3 separate regions of the Homo sapiens genome follow, and regions 2 and 3 are each linked to region 1. Evidence: promoter capture Hi-C in human tissues and cell types (Jung and others, 2019). All regions are on one chromosome and are shown on one strand. The core of a region is centred on a gene start or on the middle of the fragment in contact, and the rest is flanking DNA. Distances in the headings are between cores, read along the strand shown. Region 1 holds the start of TFF3 (trefoil factor 3). Region 2 overlaps UBASH3A (ubiquitin associated and SH3 domain containing A). Region 3 overlaps UBASH3A (ubiquitin associated and SH3 domain containing A).

Region 1 (3,319 bases), core at 731-3,230:
TGGCCTGGCCTCTGGGTACTAGGAGCAGTGGGAAGGCAGGGAGATCTCACCAGATCCCCCAGGGAGATCTCACCAGATCCCCCAGGGATTTCCCCTACAATGACCTTTTTAATAACATGAAAATCCTGCTGTCCATTGATGAACCTGGGTCCGCTGTCTCCCAGAAAAAGTGAGTGCCCCGAAAACAAGGCAGGCAACGCTCTTTCCTTCTTCCTCCTTCGCTGGCCTCAGCGGGAGTGGCACATCAGAGGCCAGGGGCCCTCAAATCCATCCACAAAGGGCGTGCTGAGCGCAAGGGCGGGGCCTGGGAGTCACAGGGCAGGACACATCCTGGTGCTCAGCACGTACGCCATCGAGCTCCCATGGGTCACTCGGGGAAGGGCAGTTTGTGGATGCACCCTTGGAGGCTCAAGGCCGCCCTGCACACACCACCGGGGACCCCAGCTGCAGGCTAAATCCAAGCAGCCAGGCGCTCCCATTTCTCGGGGTGATAAACCAAGTCCACCCTTCAGACAGAGGCTCCTGGAAGGGCCAGTGGGGGTCATCAAAATGCCTCCCTGGAAAAGAAACACGGAGAACACAAAATCTAGGGGCCCGTTTTCCTGGAATGAGATTAGTCTCTTGCCCACTACCAGCCAGTCCACTGCAGGAGGTTGGGGGGTTGGGGGATGCTGCGGATGCCGAGGGCGGAGGCTTAGGGTCCTGGGAGTGGGTTAAATACCAGCTATACCAGGGACACTGGAGTAACCTCTGATAGGCACCGGAAATGTTGAGTCTTAGTTTCTTCCTCTGGAAAATGGATAGAATCATCGCTGTCTCATCTGATATGTTGTTATAAAACAATTCCTGAGATGTAGTCTTTAGTTTTTAAAAGAGCACGCTGGGCAAAGGTGGAGAGTCAGTTCCTGTTTGTGTTAAAAATGTGGCCGAGTGCAGTGGCTCATGCCTGTAATCCTGACACTTTGGGAGGCCAAGGAAGGCAGATCACTTGAGTCCAGGAGTCTGAGACCAGCCTGGCCAACATGGCGACACCTGGTCTCTAAAAAAATACAAAATATTAGCTGGACACATGCCTGTGGCCCAGCTACTTAGGAGGCTGAGGTGGGAGGATCACTTGAGCCCCGCGAGGGCGGGGGTCTCAGTGAGTTGAGATTGTGCCACTGCACTCCAGCCTGGGTAACAGAGCAAGACCCTGTCTCCAAAAAAAAAAAACAAAAAAAAAACAAAAAAAAAACAAAACAAACAAACAAACAAAAACAAACCAAAAAAACGTGCTTAGATCCAGAGAGAAAAATTCTGAAAGGATACCTAAAAAAGTGTTCACAATAGATCAATAGATGCCTCTGGATAGGAAAGGCTCTTTTGTATTATTTGATTTTAAAAATCAATTATGTGTACCATGTTTTTACTAACATATTTTCAATCAATTCATTTCATCCACTTATTAAAATGTAGTTACTAATTTTTAGGGGAGAAAGCAAAAAGGAAAGACAAGGAATCTCTGTGTTTCAGGAGTTGTGAGAGAGCCGCAGGGTCCTGACTCACTCAGAGCTGCCTGTCTCCGAGGCCGATCTGGGATGAAGCAGCCTGGGGCTCTCTTGTCATGGGACCAGGGGTGTTCTGAGGGCTTCTGGCTGGGAGGCTGAGATGGAACGGACACCACACCCTGGTCCTGCCACCCCACATGGCTCCTGCACACTACACCAGGCCAGGCTAGGAGGGCAATTGACACACATCCGCTCCCCAGTAGAGGACCCGGAACCAGAACTGGAATCCGCCCTTACCGCTTGCTGCCAAAACAGTGGGGGCTGAACTGACCTCTCCCCTTTGGGAGAGAAAAACTGTCTGGGAGCTTGACAAAGGCATGCAGGAGAGAACAGGAGCAGCCACAGCCAGGAGGGAGAGCCTTCCCCAAGCAAACAATCCAGAGCAGCTGTGCAAACAACGGTGCATAAATGAGGCCTCCTGGACCATGAAGCGAGTCCTGAGCTGCGTCCCGGAGCCCACGGTGGTCATGGCTGCCAGAGCGCTCTGCATGCTGGGGCTGGTCCTGGCCTTGCTGTCCTCCAGCTCTGCTGAGGAGTACGTGGGCCTGTGTGAGTACTGCCCTGACTGCCCCGGTGGCAGGGTGGGCGTGAAGGGAAGGGATCCAGGATAAGGGGGGATTCTGCATTCATTTAATAATGGCCACCTGTCACATATACACTTTTTCCTGCGCTAGCCCTTTGAAGTGGGTCTTTATTGTCCCCATTTCACAGACAAGGAAACCGAGGCTCAGAGAAAGTTAACAACTTATCCAAGGCAGCCCTGCCCAGTCTGTGTTGAAATCAGGGTTTGAGCCTGAGCCCATCCCCTATGACCCCATAGCCATCTTTGCTGGAGATTTCTAAATTACAATATAGGTCTTTATGCATTGTTCCACATTTACAAAGAAAAAGGAAAGATGCAGGAGAAAAACCCTGACTTCAGAACACTGTCAATACCGGCAGGCACAAGGTTCATTTAGCCATTGCATAGCAACCCTGCCATGGGGTGTGGCTGCTCCATTAACCCAAGTTTGAAGGAATGAGGGCATGGCTTTTATCTGGGTGTCTTCTGAGCAGGGTCAAAGGCAGTGGTTCCCGAACTTGCAGCCCATTAGAATCACCTGGAGAGCTTTAAAAATCCTAATGCTTGGGGCACACCAGTTACATCAGGGCATCTCCAGGCAAGATCCAGGCCTCAGCTGTTTTGTTTTGAGATAGCCTTGCTTTGTCACTCACTGCTGGAGTGCAGTGGCACAATCTCAGCTCACTGCAACCTCCGCCTCCTGGGTTCAAGCAATTCTTGTGCCTCGGCTTCAAGTAGCTGGGATTACAGGCATGCACCACCATGCCCAGCTAATTTTTTGGATTTTTAGTAGAGATGGAGTTTCGCTATGTTGGCCAAGCTGGTCTCAAACTCCTGGCCTCAAGTGATCCTCCTGCCTTGGCCTCCCAAAGTGCTGGAATTACAGGTGTAAGCCACCATGCCCAGCCAACGTCAGTCATTTTTAAAGCTCTGCAGCTGATTCCAGTGTGAGCGAAGTTTGGATGCCAGGAGGATAAGCAATTACGGACTGGGAGCAAGAGAAGGGAATGTAAGACACTGCACGTGATTGCCATTTTCCTAAGGAAATACTCAGTTCGTTAATGAAACGCAGTGAACTTCTGCTGCACATACAGACATAGAGGCTTGCCTGAAACATGAAAATATTGGGGACTGAAGGATGTCCCGGGAGGGTGGGACATGCTCAACAATTCAGGAAGGGGAGATGCAGAAAAAAGTGAAAAGCAGGCAG
Region 2 (3,243 bases), core at 99-2,598, 97 kb before region 1:
CTCCAGGCCAGGGCTGGTGTTTGGAGAGAAGGGAATTTTGATGATTCTGAATATGAGTCTAAATAATCTTTCCCTGGAGAGGCCAAGGAGAGAGCACTAAGCTCATACTGAAAATACAGAAATAAGTCACGTAGGACTTGTGTGTCTCCCACTCAAGGCTGGGGTGGGGAGGCCCTGACTCCCTGTGTGCACCAGCCTCCAACCCCGTCACAGTCACCCACTCAGGCTTGATGCTTGGCACACCCTTCTGGGGCACTTTCCCAGGCTGTTGGCATATAGCTAAGCATTTTAAAAACCACATAATGAGAACAAGGCTATTCCCGCCTAAAGAGAAGACCAAAGCTGGTCCGGAAGCTTTCTAATGGCTTACATTTTTGAAGGATGTAGTGGCTCACGAAGGAGGCTCTAGTTAAATTGCTCAGCCTCAGGTTAGGGCCATGTCCAGGCACCTGGCTGAAAATCCAGAAGCGGGAAACGGAAGTGCCTGGGTGAGGACAGGTGCAGCCACTGAGCCCGGAAGAAAGCCCACCCAGCCATCCCACCATTGCTGCTGGGCTCTGCTCCCCTGGAACCCACCCACTGCATCCATGTGCCGGGGGCTAGTCCCTGCCACAGAGGGCTCACTCACTGTGAATCCAGCCCTGTGTTTGCAACTGGCCAGGGCTGCCCACCTGCTAAGAGAGATGCTTCCGTGGCGAAGGTCATGGCGAATTCCCGGATGACGTCTGCGGGGCTGCCACTGACGAAGAAGCCGAGGTAGCTGATGGAGGAGTGGAGAGCCAGAGGCACGGCCGTGGGGAAGGAGCCCAGGAGCCTGTCTCCAGCTCTCTTCAGCGCCTCGTACAGGCATTCCACCTTCTGGTCTTCACACTAAGGGGACAGAGACAGAGCCTGTGTTTCCACACCTCTCATCAGAAGTCATCTATTAATTTAATTAATAACAATCAGGCAGCAATTAAAGTGAGATTCTTTTCTGTTCAAAGCGCTGTAACATAATTTATTGCGTCCCTTTGTGTCTGGGGTTATGGATTTGTTCTATACCTGGACCTCGGTTTTTTCAAATATTTCAGGTAAGTTTCTTTGCAGGTTGGAGTCTCCTTTAGGTGCCCAGGTTGGAAATCCCCTGGTCGTTGAACTGCATCCCCTCCCTCCATGGCACGTGCTCATCACCTGCCAGGCCCTTTCCTCAGTCCCATGGCACACTGCTTTGCTCAGGTTTGCATGATTTGGCTTCTGGAGGTTTCTAGCAGACTCCAAGGCTGCCCAGGCACTGCTCAGAGCCTGTAGTGAGCGGGACTCAGCTGCACTTCCAGCTGCGGGGCCACCCTCTCTTCCACGGCTGAGCACTGAGTCGGGTTCCACAGGGACTCCTCTAAGGCACTGAGGCTCTGCCTGCCTCCAACCCTCTCCTCCTCTTTTGCCTTCACCAGCAGTCTCTCCCCTGTGCGTCTCCTGCACTGGGAATTCTGCCTTGGGGTCTGCTCCCTGGAGGACCTGAGCCTGCACAGCCCCTGGCCCGGCCTCCCTGATGCCCCCTGAGTGGCTGCAGGACCCTCTTTCTGATGCAGCTCCCACCCCTGAGGCCGCAGGCTCTCTGTCACCTGGAGAATCCCTCAGGCCCACGGAGCCCGACAGGTGCTGGCCCGACAGCCTTGCCCACGGGGCTCCCACCCCCATCCTCCAGCCAGACGCAGCCTCTCCTGACATCTGGGCTCGGTGTTGCCTACCGCCCTGGGGAGGCTGCTTCCTGGGCTTGAAAACCTTCCCAGTGCCATTGGCCACATCGGACCACAGGGGAAACCCAGACACCACACCCTCCTGGCGGGAGTTGGCCTGATCCCTTCTCTTCCCAGCACCGGGCTGCCCTCGGAATTTCCCACAGTGCTTCTTACAAGCCCAAGTATGAGGCCAGATCACAGTGTTTAATGCAGCTTCCGTCTCCCCATGGACAGGCCGGCCTGACATTCCTCCCTGTCTGTTTTCTCTGCAACCCTCAACGGCACTCAACACAAAACCACCCAGTGAACACATGTCCATTCCTGAATCCGTCTCACATTGTGTTTCTTGGCCTCAGATATGTAATTTTCAAGAATAGTCATGTTATAAGTGTAGCTGTGATCAATATCACACTTCGGAAGATTAGTGTTTTCATTTTACAGCATCAAGGTACACAGTGAGTCTCCGTTACACTCTTCTGCCTGTGAGGGGAGCTCCACTAACCACGGCCAGGCCAGAACTGGGGTGGGGGACTGGGAGGAGCTAACGACAGAGGGAGGTGTGTGAGTGTGTTTGTGTCTGCATATGTCTATATGTGTGTGTGTCTGTGTGTGTGTCTGCATATGCGTATGTCTATGTGTGTCTGTGTGTCTGCGTATGTCTATATGTGTGTCTGTGTGTATGCATGTGTGTATCTGTGTGCATATGTGTGCATGTGGTGCTTATGTGTGTGTCTGTATGTGTGCATTTGTCTATGTATGTGCATGTATGTGCATGTCTGTGTTTGTGCATGTGTGTCTATCTAATGTGTGTCTCTGTGTGTGTCTGTGTGTGTCTATGTGCATGTATCTGTGTATTCCTGTGTGTGTATATCTGTGTGTATCTGTTTGCATGTGTACCTATGTACATGTAGTGTGTATGTGTGTCTATCTGTGTGTGTCTGTGTATGTCTGTATCCATGTATGCATGTATATATGTGTGTGTCTGTGTGTCTATATCTATGTATGTCTGTATGCAGGTATGTGTGTGTATCTGTGTGTGCTGTGTACGTCTCTGTGTCTATCTGTGTGTGTCTGTGTGTATCTGTGTCTCTGTGTGTGTCTGTATGCATGTATGTGTGTGTATCTGTGTGTGCCGTGTGTACGTCTCCATGTCTGTGTGTGTCTGTGTGTCTATATCTATGTATGTCTGTATGCATGTATGTGTGTGTATCTGTGTGTGCCGTGTGTACGTCTCTGTGTCTATCTGTGTGTGTCTGTGTGTCTATATCTATGTATGTCTGTATGCATGTATGTGTGTGTATCTGTGTGCATGTGTAAGTCTCTGTGTCAATCTGTGTGTGTCTATGTGTGTGAGCTATGTGTGTGTCTCTGTGTCTATCTGTGTGTGTGTGTGTGTGCTTGCACCTCAGTGGGCTGGGGAAGGAGTGGGGGGCCAAGGCCTGCTCTGATTTCTGAGCTGTGTCACATGGCTTGGGCTGCCTTGCCTTTCCCCGTTGGCTCCAGAGGGTGAACCAGAAGGGAGTCA
Region 3 (3,037 bases), core at 460-2,959, 110 kb before region 1:
GGGGCCGTCCTTTTATGGCTCCCAGGTATGAATTCTGCTTCTGAGCACCAAGGGGAGAAGCCCTCATCCATCCCCTTGCTGTTTTCCCATAGCTGGTCATTCTCTGTTTGGCTGAATGCTAAAGGAAAACAGTACTTTATAGTTTATTTACTTCTTCTCGGCATGAGACTGGCCTTGGCGGTGGCCAGCAGCTTCGAGCCAGGGACAGCAGCTCTCTGGCACCTTCCTCCCCAGCCTCAGGCAGCCGCAGGATGGCCTTGGAGCCTTGCAGTTACAGGGCTCACGCCCGCCCTCTTTCTGGGGAGCCTGTGCTTTGGGGAAGTAGCCCAAAGGTCATGCTTGGGGCAGCGAGGCTGGCTACCCTTTGGGAGGGGCCTCCACTGTGTGGGATGGTGTTGTGGGGGGCTCTGTCCTCAGGGGCTAGGCCACCCTTCTCCCCATGCTGTGCAGGGCTGATCAAGTTGAGGGACTGGCCTTGAGAGGAACCCACAGCAAATGAGATGAAGAGAGTGAATGAGAGCTGAGGATGCCCCCCCTGGGACCAGAGAGCAGAGTGCTAGGGGCCGAGCCAGCTAGAGGCCACCAGGACAGCTGCGTGGAGCATAAGCCCTGCACCAGGACCCTGGAGGGAGACACCAGGCTCGGCTGCTTCCCTGGAGGGCACTAATGTGCCAGCTGACATCGGCCCTTCACCTACATTCCCAGCCCCAGAGCCAGGCCCAGGCTATCCAGGGGGGTCCATTTCAGAGCAAGAGGTGGGGAACCCTGCAGCAACACAGGCCCAGTGGTGCTGCCCTCTGGCACCCAGGACTCATGCCTCAACCTCCCTGTGACATGGCACCGCAGGGGGGAGCATGTCACATGCTGGTCCATGAAGCTGCAGTCCACAGCATCCCTGCTTTAGGGAGCTGCAGGTCTCCCTGGGCCAAGGGATGAACATGGAAAGATGAGTCATTAACAGAGATGGTGGGGGCAGAGCGAACACGGCCTGCCACGGGAGGTGGGCTGTGGGGCCTTCTGGGGACCAAATCCTGCCTGGAGCCCAGGCGACCAGGGATGGACGGGGTAGGGAGGACCCCTGGGCAGGAGGCAGCTCAGACAGGCACTATCCCTGCCCTGCTCCCTCTTGGCCACACAGCTCTCTCTGGGCTAAAATGAGAGGGCAGCTCTTGTGTGTGTTTTCCTACTGAGCAGGGTAAGGAAGAGAGGTGAGGAGAGGTAAGCCTTGTCTGCATAAACCCTCATACACCAGCCCCAGCATCGCCCTGATTCCCTCCAAATCCTAGAGAGGAAAATGCAAATGGCTTTAACATCCAAACACCCTCAGGGAGGAAGGGACTCATTTTCCACCTGGCCAGTGCAGCTGATCATTCCTGTCTGGACTTTCTTCTGTGAACAGTGATCCAGTCTCAAGGGTCTGCACTAACTGGCCACTCGCTCTGGCAAGAGTGGTCCCCCGTGGTGTCCCTGTACCTAGGGAAGTGATTGGAAACTACTGGGAAGGAAGGGACACCAGAAAGTAGGGTGGGGGCCAATTTCACCTGCCTTGAAAGCATTCTCGGGGTCAGCACCACGGGCAGCTCCTGCCAGATCCTGTGGATCCCTTGTGAAGTCCACGCTGGCCCGGACGATGCAGAATTTCCAGCTGCTGAAATTTATCAGGACCAGACAGTTCTCGGTGGCCCTGGCTACATTTGGTAGGTGCATAAACTATGGGATTGGTGAGCCAGTGAGAACGTTTGCAGTCACCATGCAAACACTTTCTTAGGGTCACTGGGCTGAGTCTTCAAAACGGATATACGGTAAGGCCAAGTGAATAGTATTGCTTTCCCTTATTGGAAAACTTCAGTTGTTTGTTTCAGGATAGAAACATGCATCTCCTGGGGAACAGCTTCAGGGGAAGGTTTGTCTTGCTGTCTTGCTCTCTTGCATGTGAAGTGTGGTTATGCAGAGGTTGCCTACACTGACACCAAGAGGCAGCACCCACCGCCCCTATCCCAGAATGAATATTAAAACATCCTAGAGAGCTGTAGAGAGCTGATCTGCAAGTAGATTGCAAAGCATGCATGCTCTTGGAAACTCATTCTGCCTAGTAACAAAGTCCCTGAAGTTTTCAACTTGCGGGCTGAAGTTTTGGATTTGGGGTATTTTCTTCCTGGAAGAGCTCAGAGCATTTTAAATGTTCTTCTGTGGAGCTTTGCCACAGGAATATGATGATAAAGCAAAAGAAAGCCCTGTGGGGAGTGGAATGGACTGACCCCTGGGATCTATGGAATGAGGCAGGGCTGCACCAATTCTCTAGACAGAAGGTGCTGCATTGGTGTCCTGGGGCTGCCATAACAGGCTGGGCGGTGCCAAGCAAGAGACATTTATTCTCTCACAGCTCTGGAGGCTGGAAGTCCAAAGTCAAGGTGTTGGCAGGGCCATGCTCCCTCTGACATTCTAGGGGAGAATTTATTCTTTGCTTCTTCCAGCTCCTGGTGGCCCCAGGTGTTCCTTGGCTTGTGGCCACATTGCTCCAGTCTCTGCCTCTCTGGCTGCATGGCCTCCTCTGCTGCTGTATCAGATCCCCTCTGCTTTTCTCTCATCAGCACACTTGTGATGGGGTTTAGGGCCCTCCTGGATGACCCAGGATCATTTCCTCATTTCAAGACCCTCCACTCAATCCCATCTGCAGAAACTCTCTTTCCTAATAAGGTCACATGCACAAGTTCCCGGGATTAGGGCATCATCTCTGGGGCCATGATTCTACCAGACCTGTGGCCAGTTGTCTTTTCTTACTGTAGGGAAGGGGTGAAATCCCTATAGAGAAGACCGTGTGAGGGGGGCCAGTTCACAGGCAGATGCATGTTCTGTTTTCAGCCATTGAAAGCACGGTTTAGACACAGGCTGAGCTACGAGCAGAGACTTCCATTCCAGGCTCTCCCCCTACCCAATACCTGGGTACTTCTCCACAGTACCCAGGTATTGGGTCAAATGTTATTTTAGATGTCACTGTGAAGGTATTTTTTAAAAATGAGATTAACATTTAAGTCAC

The links. Contacts are between HindIII fragments. The study calls those that stand out against the background at their distance.
Region 2: a fragment that was not itself captured here is called in contact with the fragment with the promoter of TFF3 in region 1 in 2 of the 25 tissues and cell types used here (heart right ventricle and lymphoblastoid cells).
Region 3: a fragment that was not itself captured here is called in contact with the fragment with the promoter of TFF3 in region 1 in 9 of the 25 tissues and cell types used here (IMR-90 fibroblasts, bladder, dorsolateral prefrontal cortex and 6 more).

Annotation. Positions count from the first base shown.
Region 1 is chr21:42,314,070-42,317,388 of GRCh38, reverse strand. It overlaps TFF3 (trefoil factor 3), which reads left to right and starts at 1,980. Exons shown (of 3, transcript NM_003226.4): 1 at 1,980-2,096. The coding sequence starts at 2,015. RefSeq lists enhancers at 1-260, 261-880. The HindIII fragment of the contact is 18,141 bases long and covers 1-3,319 here.
Region 2 is chr21:42,410,651-42,413,893 of GRCh38, reverse strand. UBASH3A (ubiquitin associated and SH3 domain containing A) reads right to left here. Exons shown (of 15, transcript NM_018961.4): 4 at 672-870; 5 at 371-484. Among named protein-coding and RNA genes, the nearest start is that of UBASH3A, 8.4 kb to the right of the region's middle. The HindIII fragment of the contact is 6,450 bases long and covers 1-3,243 here.
Region 3 is chr21:42,428,606-42,431,642 of GRCh38, reverse strand. All of the region lies in intron 8 of UBASH3A (ubiquitin associated and SH3 domain containing A), which reads right to left. Among named protein-coding and RNA genes, the nearest start is that of UBASH3A, 26 kb to the right of the region's middle. The HindIII fragment of the contact is 9,602 bases long and covers 1-3,037 here.